Linked DNA regions of Homo sapiens: region 1 is linked to region 2. The links are contacts of gene promoters, found by promoter capture Hi-C in blood cells and fetal thymus (Javierre and others, 2016). All regions are on one chromosome and are shown on one strand. The core of a region is centred on a gene start or on the middle of the fragment in contact, and the rest is flanking DNA. Distances in the headings are between cores, read along the strand shown.

What was found. The method cuts DNA at HindIII sites, captures the fragments that hold promoters and counts their contacts. A CHiCAGO score of 5 or more calls a contact.
Region 1: a fragment that was not itself captured here is called in contact with the fragment with the promoter of DYNAP in region 2 in 3 of 17 cell types (endothelial precursors, neutrophils and total B cells); the score reaches 5.9 in endothelial precursors.

Annotation. Positions count from the first base shown.
Region 1 is chr18:54,516,995-54,522,578 of GRCh38, forward strand. No RefSeq gene overlaps it. Among named protein-coding and RNA genes, the nearest start is that of DYNAP, 71 kb to the right of the region's middle. The HindIII fragment of the contact is 4,443 bases long and covers 1,407-5,584 here.
Region 2 is chr18:54,589,734-54,594,706 of GRCh38, forward strand. DYNAP (dynactin associated protein) reads left to right here and starts at 1,512. Exons shown (of 3, transcript NM_173629.3): 1 at 1,512-1,606. The coding sequence starts at 1,550. The HindIII fragment of the contact is 214 bases long and covers 1,311-1,524 here.

The DNA.
Region 1 (5,584 bases), core at 2,378-4,877, 71 kb before region 2:
TGCTTGTTAACTTCTGGGGTTTCTTCTTGAGTAAATTACCTGTTCCCCAGCATATTTACATGATTGGGTGCAAGTTTAAATGATAATGTATATGTTTGAAGGGGAAAAACATCACACAGACCAAGAGAGATGAAACCACATGAGGAAGGGGCAGTCTGGCTCCCTTAGCCTCAGTGATCATGGGATTAGGAAATCTACCTCATTGTATGAGGCTGTGGTCTTTGGAAGTCACTTCCTCCTTATTCAGGTACTGCTTCCTAAATCACTACTCAGCCCCAGCAGAATTAGGGATGGTGGAACTTAGTAAGTACTATTTAGGTGTTTGTGAAATAAATGTGAATAAATGACTCTTTTATTTCTAGGTTTGCAATACAAATGCCTCTTTTTCCTACTTAATAATTGGTGCTGGACAACTTCTATTATGGAAAGATGTCAGTTTCTAAGCATCATGGGTTAGGGGATGGGCTTTGTGGCTACCATTTTGGATACAGAGCCTGGATGCCCCTAAGAGACTGAGTCTTGTTTCTAGGACCCACAGCCTGAACACCCAAACCTGTGGTAATTTTCTCCTCAGTTCCTCCCTTAATCCCTAGAGCAGGCTCTTTTTGTGTGGCTAACCAGAATTTTATGGTGAGTCCACTTACCTGGAAAAAGTGAGCAGCTCCACCCTCTGAGACAGAGGCCTTTCTGGGGCCTGGGAAGCCTGAGGGCAGCGTAGGCTTTGGGTGAGCTAGGACGTGCATGGCTGCATGGCGTGTGGCTCGTGTGACTCTCGGAGGAGAAGGGAAGGTATGACCTGAGGTCATTTCACACTGTGCTAGGTGAGGAACACTTTTGTTTTCTCCCTAATTTTAATTGTATGAGTTTTCAGATATTATTTAAGGCTGAATCATTCTTACCAAAAATGGGAGAGAAAAAAAGAAAAAAAGTCCTCAGTTACACTTCCTGGCCCCTTATGGATGTCAAGAGTTTTTCTTCACCTTTAATTAGTTTACTAATTTTTTTAGCTAAGAGATAATGGTGGAAAAAATTAATTTTCTGTCATTTCATACCACGAGGAGCTCAAATTTTAGAAAGATAGAAGTAAATATAGGTAATCACAAATCAGTGATCTAAGAGCCATTTACTTGCAAGACTGAGGGAAGTGGGGACAAAAGACAGGGGAAGCGCTTCCCAAGGCCACATGCAAAAGCTACGATTAAGCAGTGATGTATGTTGAAGCTGGGTTTTGAAAGAAAAGTAGAAGTTTGCTAGGAGGAAAACTGGAACTCAATTACTCACTGCCTGTGTGACCTTGGGCAAGTTCTGACACCTGAGAAGCTCAGTTTCCTTAGGTGTGAAATGGGAACACTAATATTACCTGCTTGTAAATGCAATTGCAGAGATTAAATGAAAAAAAAAAATAAAGCTTATGAAGGGCTTAACACAGGCCTGACATAGAAAAAGGCTCAGCAAACACTTATTGAGTACATGCACAAATGAATGTGTGCATGGGTGTGCCATGATGAAAGGTCATGGCAAAGCCAGTAAGAGAGGGACACTGCCTGATTGTTGTCTGGTTGATTGACTCTTATTCAGTACACTTAATTAAAAAATATAAATTATGAAGAACCCCTGACATGCATCTCTTTATTTCAAGGTCAAAATTAAAGAAGGCTAACATTCTCTATTGTCCTCTATTTTATTTTTTATTTTATGAATAAGCATTGGGGTTTCAAGTGGATCAGTTTGGGGACAGGTATGGATGTGGTAGCCAGTGGGTCTCAGTAAAATCTGAAAGATGTTGAGTGTGAGCTGCAGAACTTCTAGTGGCTTTAAGGCACAAGCTATTAATGACAGAATTATTCACTGAGAGGGAATAACTGTTAGCAATAATTACTCCTAAAGGTTCGGCTAAGAAAAGGATAATGAATGACCCAGCCACAGGCCTAGAGGGAAGACCTGGGTCTAATATGAGATTGACTGATGTCCGAATTCCAAATCTGCAACCTACACCTTCCTGAACTTCGATTTTTTAAACTTGTTAAATACATTGCAGGTGTGTAGAATTATTTTATGTTTATTCAGTGAATACTCATTGAAGGTCCACCATATGCCAGTGTTGGAGATATAATGATGATGAAAACTGCACAGTCCCCATCCATGTGATAGTTTGGATTCAAGAGGCATGACAGATATTAAACAGATCACAAAATTAATGTTTAAGGACCAACTGTGCTAAGTCCCAAGAAGGAACACAGTACTGGAGAGGTTGTGAAAGTAGAAGAATGAATTTAAATTGGAGAGTGAGATTCACACTGAGACCTGGAAGATGATATATTAGGTTTCTTTGGCTGCTATAGCAAATACTACAAACTTAGTGACTTAAAACAACACAGATTAATTATCTTGCAGTTCTGACGGTTAGAAGTCCAGCATGGATTTCACTGGGATAAAGTTAAGGTATTGGCAGGGCTGAGTTCTTTCTGGAGCCCCTGAGCCTCCAGAACCTGTTTTCTTGCTTTTTTCCAGCTTTTGGAGTCTACCTACATTCCTTGGTTCATGGTCCATTTATTCTATCTTCAAAGCCCTCAAAATTGTGTATCTCTGATCATTTTAGTCATATCTCTTTCTGAGGCTCACTCTGTCTACCTCTTCCACTTTTTATGACCCTTTGATTACATTGGTCTCATTTGGATAATCCAGGATAATCTTCCTATTTTAAAGTCAACTAATTAGCAACCTTAATTCCACCTTTAATCTTAATTCCCCTTTGTCATATAACCTATCTGTGAGGATTAAGTCTGTGAACATTTTTGGGAAGGTCATTATTTTGCCTAGATGAATAGGCATGAGCCTGGGGAAGTTGGTCAGGGGTGGAGGGAAGATATCACAAGCAGAAGACCTTGAGTCAGGCTTCTGTTGAATTCATGAAAAAGAAGAATGTGTCTGAAGGGGAGAGCAGAGCCAGCTAAGGAGGTAGATGGAGCTAGATTTTGCAGGGCCTTTTTTGCCTTGTTAAAGATTTGGGACTTTTATCTGAATGCAGTAAGAATCCATCAGAGTGTTGAGTATGGCATGGCATCATGGGATGGCATTTAAGAATCACTCTGCATTCTTGGAGGAGAGTTGATGGAGAAGGCCAGCAATGAGACTCCTGTCCTTACCAGAGGAAGAGATTTATGAGATTCATTAGCACAGGGCTTGCAATTAGTAGGAAGTCTCCTGTCTGTAGTTCTTCTCTACAACCAAGGTATTTGCTAGCATCTTTCTCAGCAACATTCATTATTTTTGCCCATTCTACTTCCTCTTAAAGACTCTCTTCTTTTACAACACCTACTTTTGCTCTTTTTGCCAACCTCTAATATCCTTTATGATCTGGCTCAAGATTCACGCCTTCCAAGAAGCCATCAGCAACTGGCTTTATTCTACATCAGTCACTGCCTTTGCTCTCTGAACATACTGAATGACTTAACTGTCATACTCACCATATTCCTCCTTCCAGGGTCTACTCCAGCACCCCACAATGGCTTCTGTCCTGCCTAAATTCCCAACCCACCATGACTGAGACAGATTTCACTGACCAGATAGTTAAACCTTCAATTTTGAACAATCAGGTGCCAGGATCTTCCTCCATCTACTGTGGCCCTGATACCTATGTTGCAGCTGTGAGCTGATGAAGTATAATGTCCCACTGGTGAGTCCTTAGATCTCTGTATTAGTCTGGACAGGCTACGTTTTGCTGCAATAACAAACAGCTTGTGTATTGCAATGATTTATAAGAACAAAGGTTTATTTCTTGCTCACACTATCTGCCCATTACTGGTCACTTATGGGCTCTGTTCATTTATCATTGTCCTCATTCTGAAACTTGGGCTAATGGAACCTGGCCTTTTTGTAGAACATTGTCTTCTATCATGGCTTATGACATGCATCAGTTTTAAATCTCTGGCTTCAAAGTGATAAATACATTTTTTACTTACAACTGTAGCCAAAAGAAACCTGAATTCAAGGAGACTGAGAAGAAACACAGAAGGCTAGAAAGTGCAACCTTATCACGTGTTGGAAAAGGGAGAGCTAGAACATTTGACAAACAACACGAATGACTAGTATTTTCATTCTGGTCTCAGGATCAGGACTCAACCCAAATTCCATGGTGCCTCAGATCTGATAATCAAATTATGATACCAGAGGTTACAAGCCTAAGCCCTGTCTGTGTGACTCAGTTTTTATACCTGACTTTTTCCTGGGTTTCCCTTTGAGTCCTATTTTAGTAATCACTTTGTTCTCCTCCATTCTCCAACAGGGCTGGAAGCCTTGTTTTGTCCTTTTCCAGTTTCCGTTCCTATAGGCTGGAGGCTCATCTATTCTGATGCTAGAGCCCTACTCCCTATAGGCAGACTGTGACGTAGATGTCAATGAATGCCTGGACTCCTGAGGATTGTCTAATTGAATTGCACCTGTAGAAGGCCTTGATATTTTTGGTTGGTTTCTCTCATGCTGATCATTTGCTTGAACCCTGGGCAGAGGTTCCGAGTCTGCAAAAATAATAAACTTTGCCTTCTCCCTGAGAATTTTCAGCCTGTGATGTAATTTAGGTCTGAGTTCCAGCAGCCTCTTGCTAGTGGGCAGGCAAGTTTTTGGGCATTACCACCACCCCTTTCTTGCTGTCAATAAACAATCATATTGTCTTAATATATTGAGATGTGTTGGCAGAGTCTCTGGTTGCTTTCTGATCTTTTTCCTATCCATAAGAGATTAAGATTCTAAATATATCTTCATTTCCCCCATTTCCCAATTTTTTTTTTTTTTCTCAGCATCTAATGTGACACAGTGAATGTGCTAGGAGTTTAATAACTACTTCTTGGGTAAATGAATGGGGAGCCACAAACTTACCTTAGAACTCATAAAATATCACTAAATGCTTTGGTATTTCATCAGAAAAATGGGGTAATGACATTTAATTCAGGAAGACATTAGGAGGATTAGATATGATCAGTGTGGTATGCTCTGGAAGAGGCATTCCTTCACAAGAAATGGCAATAACATTATTAATAAGATGTGGCTGAGTCAGATGCCGCCCAGGTGTAGAACAGCAGCCAGTTAGTGTGCCCCAGTGACATTCTTCAACAAGGGATGAAACTTTTATTTTCCTACTTCTCACACACACCTGAACTGCCCTCTTGTAGCCTTTTCCTTAAGTCAAGGAAAAGTAACCCTTAATTTATTTAAGGCACATTTTTTGGTGGTCATTGGAGGGGTAGGACAGAGATGATTTGTTGAACAAATTTTCAGATAGTTTTGGTTTTTTCAGTCTTCCACTTGATCATTTTTTCACATAGTCATTTTACTGGTTTGATTTTTACTTGACATTTAACTTCCACGCATTTTGAACAATTATCTTTTCAAGTTTAATTGACAGGAAATGTAAATCTGAATTCTGTACTGAAGCCTTTGAAATATGGTATCCATTTATTTCATTACCATTTGATCACTCAACACAATATGATGAATTATAATAATGGCCCTGGCATCAAAAAATTGCTAAAGATGATAGACGTGGAGATGTCATATTGATTCTCATCACATTAAAAGACCAAAGCAG
Region 2 (4,973 bases), core at 262-2,761:
TGGCTCTACTGCCAAATGAAATGTTTTTGCAGAATAAAATTGTAGTAATATTTTAAAAATATACAATTAATATATATTATTGGTTTAATTATATTCTTCTGATTTTCAAATGAATCAAAAAATCAATCAAAAAGTCTTTCAAAAGTCATTTTTAATATTATTGACACCTTCAACCCATGTTGGTCCCTTGTACCCCATGGCTGTTTGCTTTGCTTCAAGAAGAGTAAATCTTTATGTTTTTCTTTGTGTTTCACTTTTTAAATTGTGGTAAAATACATATAACACAAAGTTCATTATCTTAATCATTTTAAGTATACAGTTAAGAGTATTAAATACATTCACAATATTCTGCAACCATCACTGCCACCCATTTCCAGATCTCTTTTTATCATCCCAAACTGAAATTGTGTATTCATTAAACAATAACTCCCCATTTCCGCCTCCTCCCAGCCCCTGGCAACCAACATTCTACTTTCTGTCTCTATGATTTTGACTATTCTAGGTATGTTATATAAGTGAAATTTACAGTATTTGTCTTTTTTGTGATGACTTATTTCAATTAGCACAATGTCCTCAAGGTTCATCTGTGTTGTAGCAAATCATCGTATTTTAAACTCCTCTTTAGAACAATTTTTTTTCCCAGTTTTTCAATTCCTTGACAGCTTTCCATGTTCTTTATATTCTACAGCTTGAGGGTAAAACTTACAAGCTGAAGGTATTGAATACATTTATAAGAGAAATTTCAAAGATTAAACTTTAAAAATATTCAGAATCCAAAAGTGTCATATACAAAGAGAATAGGAATTTTTTTTTATTATGGAACTTTCTGCACTACAAACATACCTGGCACACTTTTGAAACAGTATTCTCACTTGTTGAGTGAATAAACCAATACAAGAATTGATCATTTTACAATTTAAGACAAACTAGATTTTTTGACCAAAATAAAAAAACCCTCTTCTTAAAGATTTTCAATATTCCATCACTCCTTTGACATTATTGCCTAGGAAATTGATTCTAATAGTTTTTAATGAGTGTGAATTGCTTGAGCAACTGACCAAAGAGACTTCCAGACACCAACCCAGGGACTGAAAAGGTGAAGTGTCCCTAAGGTCATGGGTACCTAAGAGGTGGTGCCAACAAGGGGAGAGAGGCTTTTGTGCTTGAGTAGAAAGCAAGCAATGATACATTTCTATCTCAGAACGTTTTTCTGGGGTCGGTCCTAAAATAAAAGGTGAGTTCCTGAATGATGGGACTAAAGAGGAGAGACGGAACAATAATGTAAGGTTTTCAGAGGGAGTAGTCACAAAAGCTTTCAGAGGAAGTACTGGTTTTCTTGCGTCTTTCTGCAGTTAACATTTCATTTCCTCCTCTAAGGTGGATCCTGTTTTAGTGAATAATTAGTATTTAGTTTAATCCACACTTGTACTGATGCATCATAGTTGACTTCCACCAGTGTTTTAATTGTTTCATGGTTGCAGATATAAAGGGCAATGAACAAATTGAAAAATATTCTTGGAGAGAAGCTTGTGATACTGGCAGCTCAAGAATGGACAGAAAGCATGGAAAATACATATTGAACGTTGAGCACTCTGAAAACCAGCCGGTGAGTGTCCTTGCTCCATTTTGATAGTTTGCCTATATTACAGTTTCATTTTCAGCATTTAAAAGCAGTTTAATCTCTTTATTACTATCTAGCCAACATCATAATTTTGCATTCTTCTCCAAAATAAAGAGCAACCCTGTATCAATTTTTGTGCTGTAACTTTCATGTTTTATTTTGCTATGTTATATATTTAGGTATTAATTTAAATATATATAGCTATAAAGTATTAGAAATGTTTCTATGGCCATAGGATATACAAATAGATCCATTTAACTTTCTATATTCACCTTCATGTAAACATAAACTCCAATGATGTCAGTGTTTATTTATTAAGTTCTGTTTTTACAATTGGATGCTTAGAATTTTTAGACCTGTCAGAACTCAGATTTCTTAATATGCTGAAAAACCAGATATTAATTCTAGATATTAATATTCCTAAGAAAGAAAACTTCCAAAAATACCTGCTCTGTGTCAAAATATGACTATTTTGTCTGCTTTTTAAAAAATATTTTTATACCAAAAACCAAGCCTTCAGTGTATAGTTATCATAATCATATATCTGTATCATATACAGATTTTATGTATCTATTTATATCCAACCAAATAATCTTTGACTTCAGAAAAGGAAGGACATGTAATGAGAATTAAAATAGTGAGTTAAAATTCACTGCCAGCAGAATGAATGAAACATGTGTGAAGAAATAGCTTGCTTTTGTCATATGGAGCTGTGGTAATCAGCCTGTGTAACTCATGAGATAAACCAAAGAAGAAAGTCCTGTTTCTCAGTAAGTGTTAATACAAGAATCCTATAGAGGATTTCTGGTTCACCAAAAGAACCAAGATCTTCACTCCCTGGGCTGGTGTCTGGAAGTCTGCTTGGTCAGTTGCTCAGGCAGCACTGTAATTGGATCTTCAAGATGTTCAGATACTCAGATGGAAAAAAAAATTATCCTTGGTCAGGTATGTATCATCTTGATAGTTTTTCTAGATAATAACAAATGTAAAGATGTTTACAAATATTAGCTTATATTGTTTTTTTTTACAGCATATATCTGGATAGCTGACTAAATATTTTACTTTATTATATTATTCAGGCATAGATATAACTATATTTTTCTCTTCAAACCAAATTCAATAATGGAATTTAAAAAGTATTTGAAGATTATAAACACACAGAAAATAAATTTTGGTGTCCTTGTTTTTCTGTTAGGGATCTAAGAAATCTCAAGTTAATCCTTATAAAGTTTGGGTAAAAAACTTACCGAATGTACTTTAGTTAAGTACAACCAATGCATTTCAGTTGCCTGTGGCCATTATTAGCTAATGCTGATTATGCTAATGCTGGTTAACATTATTTACAGCTCTTCAACTCTTCCAGTTTTGAATAGAGACTCCACCTGTAGTAAGAGTCAGAGCAACCTGACACAGTAAAATTATTACTTAGGCTGCAAACTGGGCCTAGATCACAGGTTCCCCATCCTTAGTGTAGACCCACCCATCACCTTCCTCTCTGAAAGGGCTGGGATTCTAACAGGGCCAGAAAATTCTGGGAAACTGCCCCACTGAGTGAGTTTCACTTTGTTTGCAAAGGCATTAAAATGTTCAGGTTCATCAGCCACAAGCAAATTGGATGTAATGAAAACAACAGGATCAGCACCTAGTTAAATAAGCAAGGGTATTAACAAAGATAAATTCAACTTATTCAAATTTGCATAATGAATAGTAGGTAGAATTTTGTTTATTCATATTTGATAAACATGGGACTGATATCTATTTCTTTTATATTATATTTACAGAAAAAATTAACTTAGCTAATTGTCCACTGCCAGGAGTATCCCATCTTAACTATATTTAATGACAATTTTATATTTTTGTATTTTTAATAATAATTCCTAATGGGTCAATGATTATGTATCATTCTGGTTTGACAGTTTTCATGGAACTCACTGGTTGGTTGGCCAGTAATTTCTATAACTATTAGTAATGGGTTATTAAATCAACACAAAGACAACTAGTGGCAGTAGCGGTAGTAATTAAAATACTATTACTAATAACAAGAATGATAGTTAACACATATTCAGTGGGTATTATGTGCCAGACATTGCTACAAGCATTTGGCAGTTATTTACTCAGTGATCATATGAGCAAATCTGTAAGTGGGTAATTTTAGTATTCTCCTTTTGAAGCTGATAGGAGTGGCCAAAGATAACCTTGATTCACAGCTAGAAAGTAAACGTTATCATCCTGTGAGATGAAGAGCCTTAGATCATTCTACATTATGTTTGATATGTAACAAAACTTTTGGCTGGGTACAGAAGCTCATACTTACAATGCCAGCACCTTGGGAGGGCAGAGCCAGAGGAGTGCTTGAGCCCAGGAGATCTAGACCATCCTGAGCAACATATGGAGACCCCATCGCTATGAAAAATAACATCAAAAATAATTAGATGAGCATGAAGGCATATGCCTATAGTCATTGGCTACTCAGAAGGCTGAGATGAGAGGACTGCTTGAGCCTTGGGAGGTCGAGGTTTCAGTGAACCATGACTGTGTCTCTTCACTACAGCCTGGGTTACAGAGAGAGATCCCATCTCAACAAAACAAAACAGAACAAAACAAAAAACTTTTCCACAAGATCCATAAATTCCTGAATCTACTCCTTTCTCATGTTCACTTTATCTTATCCTTCCCCTCTTTTAACACACCCCTTCCCTAAAGTCTTTCCCTGCCAACTCAGTTGTTTTCAATCCTTATTTACCTCTTTTTCTGAATAATTTACAATTATTGCATTTATTTGTTAATTAGACACTAACCTGTTTTGCCTCCCTGTTAGCAAATAGACTCCTTGAGAGTGGAGACCTGTATTGTTGTGGACTGTTTTTACATTGCTCTATGCCCAAGAGGAACCCAGCAAAAACATACTGCAAATTCGACAAATGATTTGTCTTCTGTGTCACTGCCATAGGCTTGCAAGTTCCATTGGATAGAGCATGGTATGAATTATGTAAAGCAGTCACTTTGTGTAAGAATTTTTCACTAGTATCATGTAGTATAGTATATACTACATTACTGTATTAGCATAGTATGGCATAGCATAAGAATATACTATTCCTAGTATAGTGTAGTGGAGTACATGGGCCTTAACACTGGAAGGTCTGAGCTCCTGTGCTAGCTGTTGTGTCATGATGACAAATCATTTCAACTCTTTTCACTTCAATATTTTCATTTCCAAAATGACCTGAACAGGTTGTACCCAATAAGATGCAAGGACTTCAGCTCACCATCCTCTTCCTTATAGAGGCTTCTTAATATATGCTCCACATACAGCAGCTTGCAACATAAGGATATTCGATCCATTTATGTAATA